4 separate regions of the Homo sapiens genome follow, and regions 2, 3 and 4 are each linked to region 1. The links are contacts of gene promoters, found by promoter capture Hi-C in blood cells and fetal thymus (Javierre and others, 2016). All regions are on one chromosome and are shown on one strand. Each heading gives the region's core, a stretch centred on a gene start or on the middle of the fragment in contact. The rest is flanking DNA. Distances are from core to core; before and after follow the strand shown.

Evidence for each region. The method cuts DNA at HindIII sites, captures the fragments that hold promoters and counts their contacts. A CHiCAGO score of 5 or more calls a contact.
Region 2: a fragment that was not itself captured here is called in contact with the fragment with the promoter of NARS2-AS1 in region 1 in 1 of 17 cell types (naive CD4 T cells); the score reaches 5.0 in naive CD4 T cells.
Region 3: a fragment that was not itself captured here is called in contact with the fragment with the promoter of NARS2-AS1 in region 1 in 1 of 17 cell types (monocytes); the score reaches 5.9 in monocytes.
Region 4: a fragment that was not itself captured here is called in contact with the fragment with the promoter of NARS2-AS1 in region 1 in 1 of 17 cell types (M2 macrophages); the score reaches 5.1 in M2 macrophages.

The regions. Positions count from the first base shown.
Region 1 is chr11:78,531,803-78,534,680 of GRCh38, reverse strand. It overlaps NARS2-AS1 (NARS2 antisense RNA 1), which reads right to left and starts at 1,505. Exons shown (of 4, transcript NR_120566.1): 1 at 1,378-1,505. All of the region lies in intron 5 of NARS2 (asparaginyl-tRNA synthetase 2, mitochondrial), which reads left to right. The HindIII fragment of the contact is 6,934 bases long and covers 1-2,878 here.
Region 2 is chr11:78,112,772-78,115,649 of GRCh38, reverse strand. It overlaps ALG8 (ALG8 alpha-1,3-glucosyltransferase), which reads left to right. Exons shown (of 13, transcript NM_024079.5): 6 at 1,258-1,384; 7 at 1,661-1,764. Among named protein-coding and RNA genes, the nearest start is that of ALG8, 25 kb to the left of the region's middle. The HindIII fragment of the contact is 6,042 bases long and covers 1-2,878 here.
Region 3 is chr11:78,205,582-78,208,459 of GRCh38, reverse strand. It overlaps USP35 (ubiquitin specific peptidase 35), which reads right to left. Exons shown (of 11, transcript NM_020798.4): 7 at 2,425-2,618; 8 at 837-930. Among named protein-coding and RNA genes, the nearest start is that of USP35, 18 kb to the right of the region's middle. The HindIII fragment of the contact is 1,045 bases long and covers 933-1,977 here.
Region 4 is chr11:78,244,797-78,247,674 of GRCh38, reverse strand. The region is part of intron 3 of GAB2 (GRB2 associated binding protein 2); the gene reads left to right. Among named protein-coding and RNA genes, the nearest start is that of USP35, 57 kb to the right of the region's middle. The HindIII fragment of the contact is 3,122 bases long and covers 1-2,878 here.

The DNA of each region.
Region 1 (2,878 bases), core at 256-2,755:
CCCCAATATTTCTTAATTTGATGAGATAACACTGTGAAACAAAAGGTATTTAGTATGAATCTTTGATCTTAAGAGGTTTGAGAATTTGTGAATGTATCTGGAGGAGGTTACACTGACAAAGTTCTGATTTATTCACTCATTATCAGTCAGTCAGCAGCCTAAAGGAACTTACAGAACATTCCCCATGTTTCTTACTTTTTAGGTGTACCAACATTCCAAGAAATTCTGGCTCATAGATTCCTAAAAAAAATAACTGCTACTCAGTGTAATGGCTGAAGGTAGTAGTGTATGAACCATGTGATCCGTAGAAAATGATGCACAAAGCACACTAAAAAGCCAGTCAGTACCACTATGTACCTATTGAGCGGCCAACATCCATAACACTGACAACACCAAATGCTGACAAGGATGTGGAGCAGCAGATTTAACAGCCACTTTGCAGTATAGTTTGGCAGTTTCTTGCAAAACTAGATATACTCCAACCATAAGAACCAGCAGTTCTGCTCCTTGGTATTTACCCAAAGGAGTGGAAAACTTATATCCACACAAAAACGTGCACATGGATGTTTACAAAGCAGCTTTATTCATAATTGCCAAAACTTGGAAGCAACCAAGATGCCTTTTATTAGGTAAATGGAGAAATAAACTGTATCTGTTACATCCAGACAGTAAAATATTATTCAGCACTGAAAAAAAATGAGCTATCAAGCTATGAAAATACCTGGAGAAACTTTAAATGCAAATTACTAAGTCAAAGAGACCAATCTGAAAAGGCTACATATTGTATGATTTAAACTGTGTGACATTCTGGAAAAGACAAAACTATGGAGAAAGTAAAAAGATCATGGTTTCCAGGGGTTAGGGGAAAGGGAGGGATAACTAGGTGGAGCACATATTTTTAGGGCAGTGAAACTATTCTGTATGATACTGTAGTGGTGGATACATGTCAGTATGTATTTGTCCAAATCCTGTGGGACTGTTACATGTTATGAGTGATATGCTCTGACACTCCTGGGAGACTCCTTGGTTGCCTAAGGTGCCTTTCAGCCAGGAGGTACAGTTCCCCTTGTCTTTGGGACTTTTCTTGTGCTCATAAAGTCTTTTATAAACTTTGGTCACTCAAAAGGAAATTTTAAATGTGCCAAATTGAATGGAGCTTTAGATCTGGCCAGTTTAAGAAAATTTGCCTAAGCTGTAGACATTCACTTCCTCTTTTCAAAGAGAAACTGCTTTCTCCATGATAAAATTTCAAATGAGAGAAAAGGTTACAAACTGTAGTGAATAAGACAAGCAAGACTTTTTAATCTCAGAGAAAAGTGAAAAAATCACAAATATACACAAATAATGGAATAAGAGAATAACAAACTAAACGCCTACCTTAAAGTAGTGCTTCAATTCCAGTCTCATCAGTTGTTGAATCAGGTTCCATAAAGTCTGAATCTCAGTCAAGCCAGGGAGATTCAACCTTGAGAGTAGTCTGACCAAGGGCTTCTGCAGTCTTCAGCGAGGTCAGTTGGATGCAACGGTCCATGCTGGTGCTGGGGCTCCAGCTGTTGGCAAAACAGCAGGAGTCAATGAAGGCCTAATTTGGGTCCCATCTGGTTCACCAAAATGTCACCCTGAAATAATCAAGAGGCCCAGAATCCAATTTTAAAAGAGTTTGTTCAAGTGCAAAATTTGAGACTGGCCACCCAGAAAAAACAAGACTCCAGAGTAGTTGGGTCATTGCTGAGAAGTGGAGAAGCTGAGGCTTCACTTATATAAGTAGAAGCAAAGAAGTTTACAAGTATTACCACATTTTTAATACAATGCTGATTTATGAGTTACAGCAGTTTGATTGGTTACAGCTTATTCTTTTTCAGGAAAGATATATTTAAAATTGCATCCCTATCAATTTGGTAGTCATGGGGCCTTTCGCCATCTGGTCTGAGCTGGGTACATGAAAAAGGAAGGATGTTAATCTATAACAAAGAATTAGTAACTAAGAGGTAAGGGGCACCATTTAATCTTTCACAACGTTTTACAGGGCAAGAAAAATAAGAAAGAAGGTTAATCTGTAATAGGAAGAAACAAAAGTTGTAGTGACTTGCCCGTATGAGCTAGGTCTTACAATCAATCACATTTTATTCAAGGCTCAGAGTAATTTAAAGTTTCAGCAGCTTTCATTTAAATTATTTTCACATTAGCCATTTGAGTCTTCATTTCTGTATATCTTCTTTCTCATTTGGGGAGCAGATTATTTTCTCTTTTTTTGTTTTCTTGGCAGGAGTTCCTTATATATTCTGTCCATTAATCACTTGGCGGTTTTAGATGTTGCAAATATTTCATTCATAATCTGTCATTTGTCTGTTAACTTTGCCTATATCTTCCTTTATTAAATAGAAATTCTTAATTTTAACATATATAAATTCATCAGTTTTTCCTTTTATCGTTGGCAATTTGGAGCTTTTGTTAAAGAAATCCTTCCCCACTGATAAAGTCACAAAGTTGGGTGTTTAATTCATATATTGTATTGTTTCTTTATCACTACCATAAGTACGTAAGATTACAAATTTAAGATTACAATCCTAAATCTTAAATTTGCAATCCTAGGTTGGTAGTTTTTGAAGCTACTAAGATTCAATAATTACTTTCAAGAATTGAGGTGAAATTTATGTCATAAAATTAAGCATTTTAAAAGGTACATTTCAGTGGCATTTAGTACATTCATAGTATTTTACAACTGCCACCTCTGTTAAGTTCCAAACATTTTTACCACCCCAGAAGAAAACCCTGTGCCCATTTAGTAGTTACATCCCATTTTCCCCTCTACACAAACCATGACTCTCATCCATCTGTCTCTATGGATTTACCTATTCTGTATGTTTCATATAAATGT
Region 2 (2,878 bases), core at 379-2,878, 420 kb after region 1:
ACTTTGGGAGGCTGAGACAGGTGGATCAGTTGAGGCCAGGAGTTTGAGACCAGCCTGGCCAACATGGTGAAACCCCATCTCTACTAAAAATACAAAAAAATTAGCCAGGCGTGGTGGTGGGCACTTGTAATCCCAGCTACTTGGGAGGCTGAGGCAGGAGAATTACTTGAACCCGGAAAGTGGAGGTTGCAGTAAACGAGACCGTGCCATTGCACTCCAGCCTGGGCAACAAGAACAAAACTCCGTCTCAAAAAAAAAGCTAGCTGGAATCACTTGCCTATGTTTTCCTTATACTGGTTATAGAATATTTACCTTGGGCCAAGCATGGCGGTTCACGCCTGTAATCCCAGCACTTTGGGAGGCCGAGGCAGGTGGATCACCTGAGGTCAGGAGTTTGAGACCAGCCTGGCCAACATGGTGAAACCCTGTCTCTACTAAAAAATACAAAAATTAGCCGGGTGTGTTGGCACACGCCTGTAGTCCCAGCTACTCGGGAGGCTGAGACAGGAGAATTGCTTGAACCGAGGAGGCGGAGGCTGCAGTGAGTCAGGATTGTGCCACTGCACTTCAGCCTGGGTAAGACAGAGGGAGACTCCATCTCAAATAAAATAAAATAAAATAAAAATTTAAAAAAGTAGGTATTGTTTATTTTTGTTATTTATTTATTCATTTTGGAGACAGGGTCTCACTCTGTCACCCAAGTTGGAGTGCAGTGTCGTCATCATGGCTCATTGCAGCCTCCACCTCCTGGGCTAAAGCAGATTCTCTCACCTCAGCCTCCAGAGTAGCTGGTGCTACAGGTGCAAGCCATCACGCCTAGCTAATTTTTTTTATTTTTTATTTTTTTGTAGAGACAGGGCCTCCCTATTTTGTCCAGGCTGGTCTTGAACTCCTGGGGTCAAGCAATCCTTCCACGTCGGCTTACCAAAGTGCTGGGATTGCAGGTGTGAGTCACCACACTTAGCCTAATTTTAGTTTTTTAAATAACCTTTTTGTAGGATAATTTTAGCTTTCCAGAAAAGTTGTAGAAATAGTACAGAGAGTTCCTATATATCCCTCACCCATTTTCCCCCATTACCACCTTACATAACCATGGTACATTCATCAAGACTAAGAAAGCAATATTGATGCATTTGAATTTCACCCGTTTTTCCTTTAATGTCCTTGTTCTGTTCCAGGATTCAATCTAGAATACCACATTATTGCATTTCATTTACCCTGAATTTTAAAGTGATATTTCCCTTTTAAATCTCCTAGAAAAGGCATATGGAAGGAGCATTTCTCTTTGCTGTTCTCCTACATTTCAAGCATATCTACCTCTATGTAGCACCAGCTTATGGTGTATATCTGCTGCGATCCTACTGTTTCACTGCAAATAAACCAGGCAAGTTTTGGTAATAATAGCAAAAACATTTTCGATTTTTCCCTTACTGTGTTGACTTGGTGGCTTGCTTGATAAGAAGGTTTTATGAAGCACAGCAGATATCTCAGCTGCTAATCCTGTAAGCCCTTTACCCATTCTCGCTTTTCTCTGCTCTTGCCACATCATGAATAGATTGGTATACTATTGTGGGATACTTCTAGTTTTAGCACATGATATAGGTTATGGTTAATGTTCCTTTCCATCTTCCTGGTTACTGATAATGTTCCTTTTCTGTAGATGGGTCTATTCGATGGAAGAGTTTCAGCTTTGTTCGTGTTATTTCCCTGGGACTGGTTGTTTTCTTAGTTTCTGCTCTTTCATTGGGTCCTTTCCTGGCCTTGGTAAGCCTTTTTTTTTTTTTTTTTCAATTAATACATGTTCTTTGTTGGTGTTTAGAAAACCTAATAAAGCCAGGAATATGTAAAATAAGTAAAAGCTACTTTTTTCTTACTCCTTACCCAACGTGACTCCCCAAAGATAGGGCAGTATTCCTTTTTTTTTTTTGTTTTTGTTTAAGATGGAGTCTCACTGTGTCGCCCAGGCTGGAATGCAGTGGCGTGATCTCGGCTCACTGCAACCTCCACCTCCTGGATTCAAGCGATTCTCCTGTCTCAGCCTCCTGAGTAGGTGGGATTACAGGCACATGCCACCATGCCTGGCTAATTTTTGTATTTTTAGTAGAGACAGGGTTTCAACATGTTGGTCAGGCTGGACTCGAACTTCTGACCTCAGGTGATCCACCTGCCTCAGCCTCCCAACGTGCTGGGATTAAAGGCATGAGCCACCGCTCTTGGCCCGATAAGGTAGTATTCTTTCAGACATTTTTGTGCACATTCAAATATGTATATATATATACATGTATATGTTTAACTGTACATTACACATACACAAACACAGAATTGATCTTCATTATTTGTGTATTCTGTACTTGTAAGTTTACTTACTTGATAAAATGTATTTGTAACAAAATCAATAATTTTGCAGTCTTACATGGACAGCAGACATTCTAAAGTGCATAGAATTTAACAGATGTTCAGATGTTTTCTTTCTTCCTCTTCTTCCCTGCCCTGAAATCAACTAATTAATTTTAATTCTTACTAAAACTGAAACGCGTCACATCTTTTGTAGTTTCCCAGCTCTCCCCTTCACCCTAGTAGACATGGATAAGCTGCAGTCTGTGTTCTGCTTTGTAGCTTGTAAATTCTTCTGTTATTATAATAGTATGGACGGGTATTCAGAGTATTTTTATGTATATTGTCCCACTGGACAGTGGACAAAGTGAGACCAAAAGAAGGTTCTGTGAACTTACATTGTGGTGAGCATATAACCACTTACTTACTAGAACCCAGACCCCATAACTTTCTACACACTATACCATAGAGAGTTCCCTAGTTCTCTTTTTGAATTTGAAAAAGATTGATGACTGTTTAATCAGTTTCATTTCTCTTTTCAACA
Region 3 (2,878 bases), core at 206-2,705, 330 kb after region 1:
TACTCATTTCTGTGCCCCCACACAGAGCTTTGCATAATCCCTGGCCAAGGGCTTTAGGCTCCATGAGGGCAGAGATGGTGTTTGTTCTGTTCACCTCTGTACCCTCAACAGCTCTCAGGCTGCCTGGCCATGTGGGTACTCAAAAATAACAGCAGAATGAAGCAACATGCTGTGGTGTGACTGTGTCCTCCAAAAAGCATGTGTTGGAAACATAATCCCCAGTGCAGCAGTGTTAAGAGATGGGACCTTCAAGAGAGGATGAGGTCCTGAGCACTCTGCCCTCAGGAATGTATTATTTCCTTATCACAGGCCGTTTGCTTTCCCCAGCAGCCACAAATGGAGACAGGAGCAGGTTCCTGATAAAAGGGTGAGTTCATCCCGCTTTCCCTTCTCTCATGCATGCTCTCACACCCTGTGATGCCTTCTACCCACATTATAATGCAGCAAGAAGGCCGTCACCAGACACAGCCCCTCGATCTTGGGCCTCCCAGCTTCCAAAACTGAGAAATAAATTTCTTCATAAATCACCAAGCCTCGAGTATTTGGTTTTAGCAGCATAAAATGGACTATGGCAACACCATAATGCGATGGATGGACTGAATTGCCAAAGGGAAAGATTGGGCAGCACAACACGGAACAGGGCTCAAGGGGGCCCGCCTTCTCCTGCCCCAGCAGGGCACTAAATCAGTTCCATATGCCAGCCCGGCCAGGGGCTCAGCAACTGACATGGGAGATGACAGCCAGATGCAGGCAGGTCCTGGGGAAGGGAAAGGTGTCCATGTCGGGGCCTGACCAGAGCTGCCTCTCCACCCCCCTCTGACTGCCCCTACACTCACCTGGCTGTGTTCTAGGAAGCCAAAGAGCCACTGCAGCTTGGTCATCAGGGGCTGTGAGTTGTTCTCAGTCAAGCGGAGCACACAATGTCTGAAGCTTCAAAACAAAGCAGGGGCACCCAGGGTAAGCCATGGGCCCCCAAGGAGTCTCTAGTCACCCATGTCACAGGCAGCCCAGAGCCTCTAGGCCAAAGGCAGAACAGACATTTCTGCCCCAAGACGGAGCCAGAAGCCAGGGGCTGGGGAGGAGGAGCAGGTGAACAACTCAGCCTGGGGTATCTGAGGTCAGGAACACAACAATAGACATGTTTTAGACAATGAAGGGTACAAAGGTGACCCTTGTAGCCCCTTCCAGCTCTGAGACCTACGTTCAGGACTTAAAGATTCAAACGTCCTAAGGTCCTGTGGTCCCAGGATTCTAGGGTTAGGACATGCCACAGGATCCATGCCAATATCATCCCAGCCGCAGCAGCCCCTCGCACACCCTTATTAGCTGCTTCCCTGGGGAAAGGCATTCATCCACCTCCAGAGCAGCAGACTCTGCTCTGACCTGGGCCCTCCAATCGACTCCTACAGCCCCTGTCAGGGCCCTGGCCCCTGCCCCTAGAGCAATCTCAAGCTGTTCCCCTGCCTTCCAATGAGGGAGGCAGAGGTCAATGTGAGGAATACGCTAAACGAAGAGGACCCTTTAGGGATGGGTAGACTGGCTCCTAGTGGGAAGGGTCTGATCCTATAGGAGATAGCTCCCCTCCCTACACGAACATTCTCTGGAGCAAGCCAATTCCCAGGCCCCAGCTTATCTCCTGTTCTCACAAGCAGCTCTGGGTCTCAGAACAAGGTAAGTTCAGAAGCTGAGCGAGCACTTAGAAACATACACAGCATTTTAACATCACAACCACCATACAAGCACGTGACCGTTTTTCTAGTAAGTCGTTTTGTTATATTTTACAAAAGTAATATTCTGCAGCAGACTGGAATTAGAAAAGAAAAACAAAACTAGTCCTTCACTAGGCGTTTTGAGAAGAACGTGCACCAGCAGCACCTTAGAAAGACTTGGAGATCAGCTCCAATCTCCTCCCACTGAACCTGACGCTCAGAGAAAAGAAACTGACTTGAGGACATACGATAAGCCAGAATCAAAGCTTATTTTCACTGAATCAAAGCTGAAACTTTGATCTTTTAAGTAAGCCATAAGGTAGATAGGTGGCCATAGACTATAAAGATTGTGTTTGTTTCATTTTAAAAGAGAGAGATGTCTAATACCAGGATGGGTGGCAGTTCTACTCTGGAAGACAAAATCCACCCCCACAGACTCTAGAAGAAAAGTCAGTGATGTCAGCCAACCCAGAGCAGACCCCACTTCCCAGGGCTGCCCAGCCCCTTAAGCCCCTTCTTGAGTTCCCATCCAGTCCTGACCTGCCTTGGCAATGGCCTGAGGCTCTCTGTCCCCACAGACCTCAGGGAATCATGCTGGCAATGCAAAGCAAGGCCCACCCTCTCCAACCCCCACCCCGGACACCTTTCCACCTGTCATCAGGGAGCCCAGAGGAGAGAAGCAAGGGCAGACAGGGAATTCCAAAGCAGCACCTACTCAGACGCCATGAATAAGGCCTGAAGGATGCTGTTGACATAGCATGTGTTGCCCAGGTTGATGAGACCAATCTTGCCCGTGTCTGACTTGGCCATGAGCCGGGGATAGAAACCCGCCAGCTCGCTCTTCTGCGAAGTCCAGGCATCCTGCCCCAGCAGCTGCTTGATGCGGTCCTCATTGGGAACATGGAGGTCCTGAGGAGGGAATAAGCAGGCAGGCAGGATGGTGGGCACCAGGGTCAGCTCAAAAAACTACCACCTCTTCTGGGAGGCCTTCTCAGATACAGCCAACCCCAAGGCCTCCCAGGCACACCCCCCCACAGATGTTCTGGGGTGTGTGTGAACAGCCCCCTGCTTCCAAACCCCTTCAGTTGACATATGGGCTGCCTCCATGGTCTTTCAGGTCAGGACTGCCTTAAGGTGGCATAATTCCCATTTTATAGATTAAAAAAAAA
Region 4 (2,878 bases), core at 179-2,678, 290 kb after region 1:
AAAAAAGGCAGAAACTGCAAGAGATCTGACTCTTGAAAGAAGTGAAATTCAGTTTACATGGCTTTTCCTATGATGTTCCAATAATATATCGTCGAGAATATTCAGTATACAATGAGAAAATGCCAGACATATGAAGAAACCGTATACATTAACCCATAGTTGAGAGAACTCAGTATCTAGAAAGAGATCAAAATAAACCCATATTTTGGACCCAGCCTACAAGACTTTAAAATAATTATGTTAATTTTTTAATCTATTGTGGGTAAAGGATATAATAGGTGAAGAGATGGTGGATTTTAGGATGGATGTAGAAACCGAAAAAGAATTGGGTAGTTCCAGTTCCACTATGGTGGTGGAAGCCACCACAGGCTTTCCTTCCCACTGATTACAACTAAAAACTCTGGACAAAATCCAAAGTGCAATACCCAAAGACTCTGAAAAATAAATAAAAGGAGATAGATTGTAAAGAGGAGAAGAACTTGTAGAAGTGACTACACAGAGATGAACTTTTTGTCTTTCATGCATTTGCCTCCAGGTTGGGCCCCATCACAAAGTAGCACAGTGCAAATGGCTAAAATGTCATAAAAAACCCCATCTTTCTGAGTAGGGGAACCAGAAGAGGAGCCCCATTGGGGCTGGAAGGAGCTAGTATATTCCAGAATGAAGAGAGCTGGAGAAGGGATCTTCTAACTCTGGGAATGAAACTATGTGAGTCTTAGGATCACCTTGGGCTACACATGTGTGGGACAAACCGAATCGAGTGCAACAAAGCCTATGTGAACTGAAAGAAGATTTGAACTACCATACACAGGAGGAGAGACAGAACTTGCAGTCTGAGCCTAACCAGGTTGATTTCCTATAAAAATATCACTTCTCGGCCGGGTGCGGTGGCTCACGCCTATAATTCTAGCACTTTGGGAGGCTGAGGTGGGCAGATCACCTGAGGTCAGGAGTTGAAGATCAGACTGGCCAACATGGTGAAACCCCATCTCTACTAAAAATACAAAAATTAGCTGGGCTTGGTAGTGGGCCCCTGTAATCCCAGCTACTCAGGTGGCTGAGGCAGGAGAATCGCTTGAAGCCAGGAGGTGGAGGTTGCAGTGGGCCGAGATCACGCCACTGCACTCCAGCCTGGGCAACTGAGTGAGACCCTGTCTCAAAACAAACAAACAAAAAAATAGCACTTCTCCATGGGATTATAACAGAACCCAGCATCTACACAACATCATGTTCACAGCATTCAGGATCTGTAATCCAAAATGTCTCAGCATATTGAAAACCAGAAAAATATAACCCATTCTCAATGGAAGTCACAGGTACAAACCTCAAAATAACCCAGATGTTGGAATTATCAGACACAGATTTCAAAGCTCCTGTGAAAACAACATTCCATGTAATAAAGGAAAACACACTTGAAACTAATGGAAAGAAAAAACCCTCTGCCACCGGACACTGTGGCTCACACCTGTAATCCCAGCACTTTGGGAGCCCGAGGCAGGTGAGTCATCTGAGGTCAGGAGTTCGAGACCAGCCTGGCCAACATGGTGAAACCCCGTCTCTACTAAAAATACAAAAAAATTAGCCAGGCATGGTGGTGGGCGCCTGTAATCCCAGCTACTTGGGAGGCTGAGGCAGGAGAATCGCTTGAACCCTGGAGGCGGAGGTTGCGCCATTGCACTCCAGCCTGGGCGAGAAGAGCAAAACTCCGTCTCAAAAAAAAAAAAGAAAAAAAGAAAATAAAAAAACCCTCTGCCAACCAAGGAGTTTATATTCGGCAAAAGTATCCTTTGGGAATGTAAACAAAATTAAGACGTTCTCAGATAAAGGAAAAATAAGAGCATTTCCAAGAGATCTGCTTTTAAAAACTGATAAGAAATTTCCTCAGGCTGAAGCAAGATGGTACTAGAAGGAAACTTGAATTTTCAGGAATGAAGGAAGAGCAACAGAAATAGTAAATCCCTGCATAACTGTGAAAGATTATTTTTCCGTTTTAACTTCTTTAAAATATGTATAAGTGTTAGAAGCAAAACTCAAACAATGTCTAGTGAGGTTTTCACCTGGTTTTCTTACTCTTTAGTATGAAGAGCTCCCTTTGCCATTTCTTGCCATGTGAGTGGCCTGGTGAGAAATTTTCCCAGCTTTCATTTATCTGGAAATTTCTTAATTTCACCTTCAGTTTTGAGAGAGATTTTGCTAGGTATAGAATTCCAGAATGACAGTTCTGTTTTCTTTCAGCATTTAAAGGATACCATTCTAGTCTTCTGACCTTCATTGTTTCTGATGAGAGATCAGCAGTTATTTTAATTTTTATTATTCTATATGTATTTTCCTTCCTCTGAATGATTTTTTCTTTTCAAAAATTGTAGTAAATACATAGCATAAATATATCATCTTAACCATTTTTAAGTGCACAGTTCAGTAAAGTACATTCATATTGTTATATAATCAATCTCCAGAAATCTTTTCATCTTACCAAACTGAAATTCTAACCATTCAACAACTCCCCATTTCCCCTTCCCTCAGGCCCTGAAAACCACCATTCTACTTTCTGTCTGTGTGAGTCTGACTTCTCTAGATGCCTCATATACATGGACTCATACTACATTTTCTTTATCCATTTATCTGTTGATGACCACTTAGGTTGATTCCATTATCTTGGCTATCGTGACTAATGATGCAATAAACATAGGGGTGCAAATAGCTCTTTAACATACTGATTTCCTTTCCTTCAGATATATACCCAGTAATGGGATTGCTGGATCATAAGGTAGTTCTATTGTTAGTTTTTTGAGGAACTTTCATACTGTTTTCCATAACGACTGTACTAATTTACATTCCCACCAACAGTGTGTAAGAGTTCCCTTTTCTCCACATCCTC